Linked DNA regions of Homo sapiens: all the other regions are linked to region 1. Evidence: promoter capture Hi-C in 16 types of primary human blood cells and fetal thymus (Javierre and others, 2016). All regions are on one chromosome and are shown on one strand. The core of a region is centred on a gene start or on the middle of the fragment in contact, and the rest is flanking DNA. Distances in the headings are between cores, read along the strand shown. Region 1 holds the start of ARL5A (ARF like GTPase 5A). Region 2 overlaps PRPF40A (pre-mRNA processing factor 40A). Region 3 overlaps FMNL2 (formin like 2). Region 4 holds the start of RBM43 (RNA binding motif protein 43).

Region 1 (2,801 bases), core at 111-2,610:
CGTTGCCTGTACTTTGTGCAGTTTTCTATTTGCTAATGGTAGGAGGATATATTCAAACCATCCTACTCTCTCATGCCTGAAGTCAGAAGTCTCTCCAATGACATTTTGCATTTCTCTGTAATCATAGATAAATTGGTCTTTAAACTCTCTGTCTCTGTCTCTCTCTCTCTCTTCTTTCTTCACTCGGAAAATAACCTGGGAGACCATTTCCTTGGGTAGATTGTAAAATATGAAGCTCCGCCATCACATAATGTGTATATGACATCCATTTCATAAGTTGACATCTGTGTGGGAGTCTGAAAAAGTCTTAGAGCTACCAAAGCATTACCTACGGTGTGCGAGAATGGAAATATTACAGAGTTAATGCAAATTGGTTATACAAACTACATTGTTCTTCTAAACAGTGTACAGAATATTAAGTAAATCCAGACATGATAATACATAAATTAATATGGATTACTATGATTTTCCTTCCCTTCATGTATGGCTCCTCTAAACTTTGGCTTTTTAACCATAAAGCCCCAAAAGAAGTCAACGAAATTACTTTTCTATATTTTGAGGTAAAATACTGGGTAGTTAGGAGAAGTGAGTTGGGAAGGTGCGGTTTATTGCTGATTTTGCTTAATTTCATTCAGCTGTTGGGGATGGGAGTGCAAAGCAGTTCAAATGGCTCCTACAAGTCTCCCAATTTTTCTTTATTTTCCTTTTTACTAAGGTTAACGAGAACAGAAAGGGATGGAGCTTTGGTGGCCACTAAAGGTTTTTAAACAGGGTAGTGACTTGATCAAAATCGTTGTTTTGGGCAATACTGACGTGAGAGTTAAGAGATTGGAGAGAAAAGAGCCCTGAAGTGCAAAAATGGCTTTAAGGTGACTATCTAGGTAAGGCCACTGACTTCAGCTGAGTGTCAGAGGGCAGCAGACTTTTCCCTCAAAGACCCACAGGGGACACAATGTCTTAAAGAGTCATGACGTGGAACTTTAAGTGTAGTGTATGTGAAGGGTTGGGGATGGACATGGGGTACTCAATTATATGTTTACATTATGGCGCAGTGGAGAAGATTCGAGGGAAATATAAATACTCGGGGACGCAACAGCAAGCAGTCGGAAGCCATCTGCCCCAACTTGCGGTCTTCACAGCCTCAGTCCCAGGGTAAAGTCCTGCGCCTTCCGCAGTCTTGGTTATGCAAATAAGCGAGGACAGGGCGGGCGCCCTTTCCTACGCTCCGCCCCTCTGGCCGCGCGCCTGCGCACTCACGTCCCTCCAGGCCCGCCCCTTCACTTCCCCCGCCCGCGTGGTCGTCGCCACCGCAGCCGCCCGAGAGGAGCTGGGGGAGGACGGTGGCCCGCGAGGCTCGTCGCAGACAACGCGGCGGCGATGTCCGCGAGCCAGGCGAGTGCCGCGGCGGCAGCGGCGGGGCCTTGCGCGCGGCAGGGCGGCCTGGGCTTCGGCCTCCCTCCGGTTCCCTGGAAGCGGGCCCGCGACCAGCGCGGGAGCAGCAGCAGAGGCGGAGGCTCCAGCGCGTCTCTCTCCTCCCCCTCAGCCTGAGCCGGGGGAAGCCAGGCGGCCCGGGTGTCTGGAGGGGGGGGGTCCGCTGCCCGAGAATGGGAATTCTCTTCACTAGAATATGGAGACTGTTCAATCACCAGGGTGAGGAGCTCGGTCCGCGGGCGTACGGGTTGGGGAGAGGGTCAGCTCGGGCCGGCTAGGTGGGGGTCTCCGAATACTTCGGAATGTGGGCGGCTCGGTCGGGCGCCAGCTCAGCGCGGGGTGCAGGCTGCGCGGATACGGGCCCGGGACGGTTCGGTCCCGGCTCCCGAGCTTGGGGATGGTTCCTGACTCGCAGCCCTTTGTCTTAGGAGACCTTCCTAAGAAGTCTTTTCCGTAATAGACCCATTGCTCCGATTTCGAATGAGAGTGGTAAAGGTTTCTTGCCCTAGGTCCGACGTCCCTGAGTAGCACGGCCTGGCCTGTCTTTCAGCCCTTTCTTTGCTCACCAGTTGTGTTTGGACACCACATAGAAGTGCTGGGGTCTTCTGGAATGAAGGTTATAGATTGCTGCCCTAACCGCACCACTGAGCGACCGAGGGTTGCAGAATGCGGAAAACGGGAGGAATCGCTCGACTTGTCCATTACACCTCTGGTTTATGAGCCTGCCCTCCACTGCCACCCGTCTTTGTGTGTGTTGGGGGCAGGGGGGGTTCTTCTGCCTCCTGAATAGAGATGGACTTCTCTCCATTTGTTTTACTTATTATATCTGTGTTTAAGGTTAAGCTTAAGGTCATTTTTCTACTCGTGTGGGTTATTAGACACAGTTTTTGTTTGTTTTGCTGGGTTAAAAATGTTAAAGTGTTTCACTGAAAGTTTTAAAAACATACCATATGAAACATTTGTTAACCATAGGTAACTAGCAAGTTACTAAGTGTAAAGTGTGTTATATAGGGATGCTTAAGTTCAGCCAACTTCAGACATGGCCATGAAATACCTATCAGGCTTGTTAAAATTTGTTACAAAATGACTAAAACTGGGGAAAGAGAATACAATTTTAACCCAAAGACTGGATACTTATTAAGATACAGTGGTGTACTTTTGTTTCTTTTTAACTCAAGTTGGGTGGTTCATCATTCCGCTGTCAGGAACTTAGTTTGTGTTTTTCTGTTGTGTAAGCTGATGGTGTCACGTCCCAGTTTTCCAATAAAGACTTACGTGAATGGTGGCATCTATTATGTACACCTACTACTACCACCTCCTCCTTCATGATCTAGCTGCTCTTTTAAGAAGCTTAGGGGAAGCAAGCAGAA
Region 2 (2,801 bases), core at 154-2,653, 840 kb before region 1:
ATGGAGCAATGAATTTTTTGCATTTCATATCTCACCTATTTCAATAATTATAATAGCTAATATTCTTTGATTGCTTACTGTCAATACAATTTACATTTGTAATCTCAATTTTTATGACAGTCTTACCTTATAAGGGTACTTACTGTTTTTGTTATATAAGTTTATATAACTAAGGAAATGGAGAGGTGAAGTGACTTGCCCAAGTTCAACAGCTGCTGAATAGTGAAGCCAGAATTTGAATCCATGCAGTTTTGATTACAGGGTCTCTTCCATTAACCATTGTATTAGGATAAATGCTAGGTTACAATGGCTTAAATAAGTTTTTTTCTTGAAGTAACAGTCTTTTTGGTCTAGGGCAGGGCATATTGCCATCCCTTAAGGCAGTGGTTCTCAAAATTCAGTGTATCAGAATGAAGTGGAGGATTTTTAAAAAATTTCTTCTGGCCGGGCACGGTGGCTCATGCCCATAATCCCAGCACTTTGAGAGGCTGAGGCTGGCAACTGCTTGAGTCCAGAAGTTCAAGACCAGCCTGGGTAACACGATGAAACCCGGTCCCTACTAAAAATACAAAATAATAATAATAATAATTAGCCGGGTGTGGTGGTGCATGCCTGTAGTCCCAGCTACTCAGGAGGCTGAGGTGGGAGAACCTGAGCCCAGGAGGTCAAGGCTGCAGTGAGCTGCGATGGTGCCACTGCACTCTAGACTGTGCAAAAGAGCGAGATCCTGTCTCCAAAAAAAAAAATTATTCGCGCTATGCCAAAGGTTACTGTGTTAAACGTCACAGCCAGTAGAAAGATTTCAGTCCTTATTCAATGAAAACTTAACATTTACTACTCTTGATAGGTTCCTTTATCTTAGTGACTTTCTAGACTTGATCATGTTCTACAACGGTTAAAAACACAAATTGTTTAGCCTTACCTGAAGAATTTGAATTAGTAAGTCTGGGGTGGAGTCTGAAAATTTCATTTCTAAATTTCCAGGTGATATTGATACTGTTGGACCATAGTTTGAGAACCAGTGCGCTAGCATGTTAACCTTCTCTGCAGAGTTAGGGGTATGCTGCCCCCATTTCACATTTTAACTTGGAAAAAGTAGAAAGAACAGTTCTTCTTAAAGCTAATGATGTAGAAGTTCTGCTCACCTCCTTCATTTGGGTTCAGTTGCTGAGAATTTAGTCACAGGGCCACAACTAGCTACACAAAGGAGGCTAGAAAACTTAGCTTTTAGCTAAGCAGCCATGTGCCCAGAAAGAAGGGGAGGACAGATTCTTAGGAGGGCTATTATACACTCTTCCACAACTTAAGCTTTAATGTCTCTGATGAAGGTTTTGCAGTGGTTTAAAATAAGGAGACATATATGAAAAAATAATAATACAGTGAAAATAAGGTCTGGGTCATAGAAAATACGAGACTATAATGTAAACAATATTGAAGATGGAGACTGTGAGGCAAAATTTTGATGTGAAGGCTGTTACGGTTCCTTAAATAAGCTTAAATGTGGCTTTGAATCAGATTGCTATGTGTCTGGCATAGTTTCTGATTACTACTAATATAATTGGTGTTAAGTATGTTGTATTAATATTCTTTCAGATATTCAGCCTGGTAATTTTCCTGTTGTGCTATTTCAAAAGATTTATTTAGGACTTTAGTGAAATGAATTAAAAGAGAAGATTGGCATTAGACAATAAAAGATCATTAATGGAGAGCTTCTCAGTAGTTATGATTATGATGATGACTAGCTTTTTATTTAGTGTTCATTTGCTAATCAGAAAATTCATCATGTCTGTGACAAGGAAACTATGATCTTGTTTTTCTTATGTCTTAAAACTGGTATTTGAAGTCAGTTTTGTCTGGAAAGGATTGATCTGAGGCTTTCAAGGAGAACCAGAGGAATGTATAGTGTCTCAGAAGCCAAGAGTTTGGAATTTTAAGATAGAGCATGATCCCCAAATGCACAGAATCAGTATCACCTGGGAAATTATGAAAATGCATATTCTCAAACTCCACGTCAGACTTACAGAATCAGATTCTGGAAATGGGACCTAACAATATGATTTTTTTAAACAGTCCTTCAAATGAGTCTTTGAGAAACCCCTGAGGTAAAGGAATCCACCTAAAGTAACATGTTAAGAAATTTTTATGGAATGAGGACTGAAAGAATACTGTTAAGGGTGGCATTTAAGGTGTTAAGAGTGGCATTTAAGGTGTTTAGTGACCATTGGCATGGTAGGGAAAGTTAAAGGTCTGCCAAATAGTTGAAAGATATTCAATAAGGTAAAATTCAAATAAGCTTGCAGTTAAGAGAAAGGCTTTTCTTGGGTAAGAGGAAACCAGTTAAGAGGGAGAGAATGAAGGAAGAATTGAAAAATAAGGGTGAGTCTCATTAAACAACATCTCGGAAAGTTGGGAATTCAAGCATATATATGAATACAGTTACATTGAGAACAGTATATAAGAGAACAAAAAGAAGGATGAAGATGGAGAAAAATTAATACCGATTTGGATCTAAGACAGTGGTGCTCAACCAAGAAAGATTTTGTGATTGTCACTATTTGTGGGGAACATGCTACTGGCATCTAGTGTGTAGAGGCGAGAGATGCTGATAAACATCCTGCAATGTACAGGGCTCAAACATACCCCGCCCTCAACCAAGAGAAAGAAAGAAAAAAAAATTACGTCATCCAAGATGTCATTAGTGCCACGGGAAGAAGAAACATCAAGCTCAGCCATCTTTGAAGCAACTTGCTTTCCATAATGTAAAAGGCAAGGCTTTTTCACCCCTAAAATGGGGCAAGTAA
Region 3 (2,801 bases), core at 201-2,700, 800 kb before region 1:
CTTAATTTGAACAAATGAAGTATTTGTTACAGTCTCTATTCTCTATTATTCTCTGGACAATCTTTGTTCAGCTAAATAATAGAATTACATTTAATCATCATGACAAACAAGATATATAAAGATTTAAAGCCAGGCTGCACTTCAGGATTCAATGACAGAAATCAGAACAGACTGTAGGAGGCACTGGACTACCAGATTATGACCCTGGTTGAGGACACAAAATTGGAACAAAGGATTTCTTAGGGTCATTTACACCTCGAAGCCTCTAACCAAAATGTATAAGATAATCAATTTATAAATAATTAGTTCCTAAAACATTTAATAATGTCTTCATCACATTTGAAAGTCACCATGGCCACAAGAAGAATAGAAGGATTCTTCTAATAGAGGAGTAAAACCAATGCCTTCTATGCAGTTCAAGAGTAAAAAATGAACTTTGTTTAAAATGTCCTGAAAGTACTGAAAGCAAAACAATTCACATTCCTGTTGTTACGAATTAAAATATGCATCTGTATCATATTTGCATCTGGCATTGAACTGTATCATTCCACAAATGCCATCAAATTTGTATTCAACAAATCTGGATAAAATCCAGATACTCCAGAGAAAACTGACATTTTCTACCTTTTCTTAACATCTGCCACGCTCAGCTCAACTTTCCTTTTATGTAAGCATTGCTGGAGGCCCGCATAAGAGAGTAGACCCAGATAATAAATGATGTCACAATCCAGATGTTATTCTTCTAAAACAATTAGTTACTGGTTCTAATACAACACTCCCCAGGGTGATTTCTGGTCTACCTCTTTCGTGTTGGCATCATATTCAACTTTGAAGTAGCACACACAGAGTTCAGATCTCTCAAGTGTGGATATCAAAAATTGCTCCAGCTTTTATCTTAGGTCTTGTCTCACTATTGAAATATTTGTCATCTACTAATTCATAACTTTCTCATTTTCATTTTATCATAAACTAACTAGAATATAATTTTCCTGAACTTACACATGAATAGCTTTACATATTTCATCAGCAGTCTTTCCAGCTTTCCTTAAAGTTATGGCAAGATTTTTGGCCCTGTTTGCTTCTAGTAATGTCACTTTGTTTGATCCCTTCTGTGGTATCTTCTGTTTGCTTGAAGAAAGATCAATGGCAGGTCCTTGGGCTTTTGTCTTGAATATTTCCTCAAATTCATCCACATTTAAATCCTAAGATAGAGAGGAATGACCATGGAAAATTGGATTATATTTAAAAATGAAGTCCGGAAGCCACCAGTTAGTTTCTTAAGCAAAAACGTCACTTTTTCTATTAAGTACTTGTCTTTGGCCATGGCTTCCTCTATTTTTCTTGTTTTTGTTATAGTACAACTTCTGGCACATACACAAAAGTGAACATAGGTCGGATGTGGTGGCTTATGCCTGTAATCCCAGCACTTTGGGAGGCCAAGGCGGGTGGATCACTTAAGGTCAGGAGTTTGAGACCAGCCTGGCCAACATGATGAAATGCGCTCTCTACTAAAAACACAAAGAATAGCCAGACATGGTAGTGTGTGCCTGTAATCTCAGCTACTTGGGAGGCTAAGCCAGAGAATTGCTTGAACCTAGGAGGAAGAGGTTGCAGTGAGCCGAGGTTGCGCCACTGCATTCCAGCCTGGGCGACAGAGTGAGACTCCGTCTCAAAAAATAATAATAATAATAATTTAAAAATAAAATAAAATAAAAAAATAAGTGAACATTAGACTACCGATTCTAACCCACTAATTCAATTACTTTTCAATAATTAGCTTGCACAGACAGCTGCCACAGATTAAAATTATCCATCAGATAAGGCAGTGAGTGTGATAATTGAGCTCACTTGCAGTCCAAAAGTTTTTATGTCTTTCTCTCAATTAAGGGAAGGAATTATTATGTCAGATCTATATTCTGTGGCATACACTAAAGATGCTCAAAAGCATTTATTCCAATTTAACATAACTCTTTGAACAGTTTTAGAGCCACCTTACAAAACAGTGTCAAATGTTATTCTCCAATATTACATACATGTTTCTTCTTTACATCAGGGGACTTAAAACACTAGTACTTTATCTCTGACACTTCCAGGTTAACAGAACACCCATGCCGGCTTTGCTGCACAGAGTGCACCTCTAGTTTCTAACCAATGAGAAAAATACCTCCAGAATTCGCTCATCATCAATTTCATTGAAGACTGTGCCATTGATCTGATTGGGCTTCAGAGCAACCCAGTTAAACACTGGCATTCTGAACTTCGTCTTGATTGGCTTCTTAATTTTCACAGCTAAAGACATCAAAGAGAATGGAATTAAGATCCCACCAAAAGCCTACGACCCTCAGGAACAATCAGACAACAGTCCTTGCAGATGACACTTTGACACTGGAGGAAGGTTGGCAAGAGGCGCGCAAGTAGGTTTTTAAAGCTGGAAAACAACACACATGGCCTTGGCCAGAGCCATTTGAGGTCATCATTTGGTTGACTAACACATCATTGTATTAAAAGACGTCTTAAGGGCCAAGGGTTGATTTTTTTTTTTCTTTTAACTCAGGCAACTAATTTGCTGCATTACAGTTACAATATTAGGACAATGGTTGGGACAAATAAAAAGTGTTGGAGAGCAAAGATTATTACTCATGTTACTAGATAGCAGAGAGGGCAAAAACTTGCCATATTTGGACATCCTAAATTCTTGGTTGCAGACCACATGTTTACAAACAAACCTTAGAAGATGATCAGGGACTGCAGACAGTGGCTGACTAGACTACCAGAAGTACAACGTCATGAAGGCTGACTTC
Region 4 (2,801 bases), core at 150-2,649, 570 kb after region 1:
CTTCAAGTTCAGTTCTAAAAGTAGAATTGCTGAGACTAAGAATATGTGCATTTTACATTTTTTTGCACTTTACATTTTGATAAAAATCTTTAGAAGTATTTGCATCCATCTATGCTTGCAGCAACTCTGATGCTTACATTCAGGCTAACACTTTCTGGTTTTGCAGATCTAGTTGTGAAAAATGGTATCTTATTATTTCAATTTACATTTCTTAGGAGTGGGATTGGGTTTCTTCATATCTGCTAGCCATCTACCTTTGTTCTTCATGCATTCATTGATTTGATTTTGAAGTTTGTCCAGAGATTCCCTGTGTCCCCACAGGCGCCATTCGGGGTTCCTGTGCTAAGGCATGGACAAGGTGGTGAGCTCTCTGCTGGCAGGGACCTGGCGCTCTCATCCTGTGTCCTTAGCACCCGGCAGAGGTCCAAGAGGGCTCCTGGTCTGGGCTGGGAAGGTGACCAACACGGCGTTGGGGGTTGAGGTGGGGGTTGGGGAACTGGGGTAGGTTGTGCAGAGGAAAAGGCCCAGGTGAGCGGTGGGGGAAGGGGAAGAAGTCTGGACAGATAATAAGGGCGTAGGAAAGACATCCAGATTTCACTGAGTGCAGGGCTTTTTAAAACTGATGTTAGAAAAACTTGATTTGCTGTTGTAAAAAACCATCTGTGTGAAGTAGAAATTGATATCAATAACATGATAGAGAATACGTTCTAAAAAGTAAAGGTAGCTGGATGTAAAATTCTGGCAGAAGTTTAATATCCTAGATGGTTAGTTTGAGGCCAGCAACTAATGAGGATAAAAGCCTTCTCCATGGAAAATTTTGGACAGTTATCTGGAGAAATATTACAGTGCGCATCAACCAAATTGAAATGTTTTCAAAAGTGTTGTAAAGTTTCATGTAGTAAAAAGGTTTTAGCCACATGCCCTTCAATTTCATGGCATCGAATATATAAACACAGAAGAGAGCATGCATGCAAGATATTTAACTCCCTTACATGATAATGCATGCGATTCAAAACTATCATGACATCTAGGGCTCTCTGCAACTACGAGATGATTGATGTTAGGAAAAGCGTAGCCCCCCAGTATCAACACAGGAAGCGGCCACCACCTACTATGTGTTTTCCCTTTTTGCGTTTTTTCTTTTTTTAAATCAACTCTGCCGTTGTTGCTGCTGCTTAGCAAAACGGGTAAAAACAAAATTGCAATCACTGATGCATCACCCAGAGAATTCCCAAATTTCCTGTCGAGGAATCCTCTCGGCCTCTCTCCAGAGTGCTTCCACAAGTTGCAAAACTACGGAGGGCGTCTGGGCAGGCGCTGGCAACAGCACTCCTGAGTCCGAGCTCCCACTCAGAGGCCACGAGGTCGCAGAACAGCCGGATCGGGTGGAAGGACCGCCCTTTTCTTCGTAGCCTCCAAGGGAGCTGGAACAAAAAACGAAACCAAAACCTGCCTGCTCGCTCCTCTCCCCATCGCCTGCGTTCCGCTGGTTGTGGGCTTTCTGCGGCCGCTGAGGGCGCGTCTCCCCTCCGCCATGGCAAGTTGCTTTTGCTTTGGGTTTTGCGGTGCAGGTCCGTGCCTGTACCGTCGCCATGGTCCCCTAGAAGGGCGCGGAACCGGGCGCGACGGGCCAGGGTGCAGGGCTGCGCGGGAGGGGGCGGCGCACGGAGGGGCCCCAGGGACCCCGGGGGCCCCGGAGAGCCGTCCACCCCGGCGGGCAAACTCAGGTCAGCCTCGCTGCACCCTTCCCAGGTGGCGGCATTGCGCGCTCCTGAAATTCACGTACGGCGGTGCAGTATAGGCCCGCTCCAGAGGCTCAGGACTAGGCTGTCACCTCCCACACCCACTGCCCAGGCGACGGGGACGCCGCCGTTCGTCGAGGAGCTGCTTCGCAGGCTGTTAGGGCTTAACTGTTGTCCTCCCACGCCTCGGGGGGAACAAAAGTGGCCTGATTAGCCAGAAATGGAGGTCACAGCTGCCTTTTGAAAAGGGCTAATAAGAACGATTCGAGCCAAGGACGCAAGTCAGGAAGACATCCTCATGTCTTATGTCTGCCTTGGTGCGAATTCTTGTCTTAGCAAATTCAAAATTTATCCTTCTGTGTTTTGTTTTGTTTCCATCAATCGCTTAAAAGCCTTGGCAAGGCCTTTAATTCCTGCTCTGAAATGCTAGAGTCCCGGAAATGCAAAAGCAAGTACGTTTTTGTTGACCTGGTGGCGGTAGAGGCGTCGTCATTGAAAATAAACAACTGATTTTGAGAAAATCAATATAAACAAATGCAGTCAATGAATCTTCTGTTTCTTCCCAATGCCTTACTTACAAAAGTAAAGTTTTGCTATATACTTTTTGCTTTCTGATAAGATGGCCAAGTCTGTTATAACACAATACTGATGCAAGGAAATGCGCCATCACGTTAGTATGTCTTGGCTAAAAGCTGCTCGTTTCAAAGTCCTTGAAAGGACTGTCTTTCTCTAGGCATTTCTTTATCTTAATCGTGGGTAGAAGAGATGAACAACCCTCATTATTCATAATTGACCTCAGTAAAATTATCTATGTTAGCCATACTTTCTCCAACCTATGAAAGGGAGTTAAGGACAAATATTGGCAAGTCATTGAAGTACTAATTCATTAGATGATTCATAGAAACTAGTTCTTACCAAACAAAATTTACATCTTTATGTTTTTTTCTTCTAAAAATACTGGTTCAGGGAGAAGTTTCTTTGATTTTAAAGATAAATTACCAGTAGACATTCGAATAAAGAAATATGGTATTAGTACTAATGAGGGCATAGAGCTGAAGT

What was found. The method cuts DNA at HindIII sites, captures the fragments that hold promoters and counts their contacts. A CHiCAGO score of 5 or more calls a contact.
Region 2: a contact is called between a fragment that was not itself captured here and the fragment with the promoter of ARL5A in region 1, in 1 of 17 cell types (total B cells). The highest score is 5.8, in total B cells.
Region 3: a fragment that was not itself captured here is called in contact with the fragment with the promoter of ARL5A in region 1 in 1 of 17 cell types (neutrophils); the score reaches 5.6 in neutrophils.
Region 4: a contact is called between the fragment with the promoter of RBM43 here and the fragment with the promoter of ARL5A in region 1, in 8 of 17 cell types (non-activated CD4 T cells, fetal thymus, total CD4 T cells and 5 more). The highest score is 12.0, in non-activated CD4 T cells.

The regions. Positions count from the first base shown.
Region 1 is chr2:151,826,980-151,829,780 of GRCh38, reverse strand. ARL5A (ARF like GTPase 5A) reads left to right here and starts at 1,360. Exons shown (of 6, transcript NM_012097.4): 1 at 1,360-1,650. The coding sequence starts at 1,605. RefSeq lists an enhancer at 1,035-1,084 and silencers at 1,135-1,644, 1,695-1,744. The HindIII fragment of the contact is 9,661 bases long and covers 1-2,276 here.
Region 2 is chr2:152,665,936-152,668,736 of GRCh38, reverse strand. The region is part of intron 16 of PRPF40A (pre-mRNA processing factor 40A); the gene reads left to right. Among named protein-coding and RNA genes, the nearest start is that of PRPF40A, 50 kb to the left of the region's middle. The HindIII fragment of the contact is 185 bases long and covers 1,311-1,495 here.
Region 3 is chr2:152,624,926-152,627,726 of GRCh38, reverse strand. FMNL2 (formin like 2) reads right to left here. Exons shown (of 26, transcript NM_052905.4): 16 at 2,165-2,289; 17 at 1,000-1,202. Among named protein-coding and RNA genes, the nearest start is that of PRPF40A, 91 kb to the left of the region's middle. The HindIII fragment of the contact is 5,332 bases long and covers 1-2,801 here.
Region 4 is chr2:151,260,461-151,263,261 of GRCh38, reverse strand. It overlaps RBM43 (RNA binding motif protein 43), which reads left to right and starts at 1,399. Exons shown (of 4, transcript NM_198557.3): 1 at 1,399-1,537. The coding sequence starts at 1,535. RefSeq lists an enhancer at 1,316-1,545 and a silencer at 1,586-1,855. The HindIII fragment of the contact is 8,034 bases long and covers 1-2,801 here.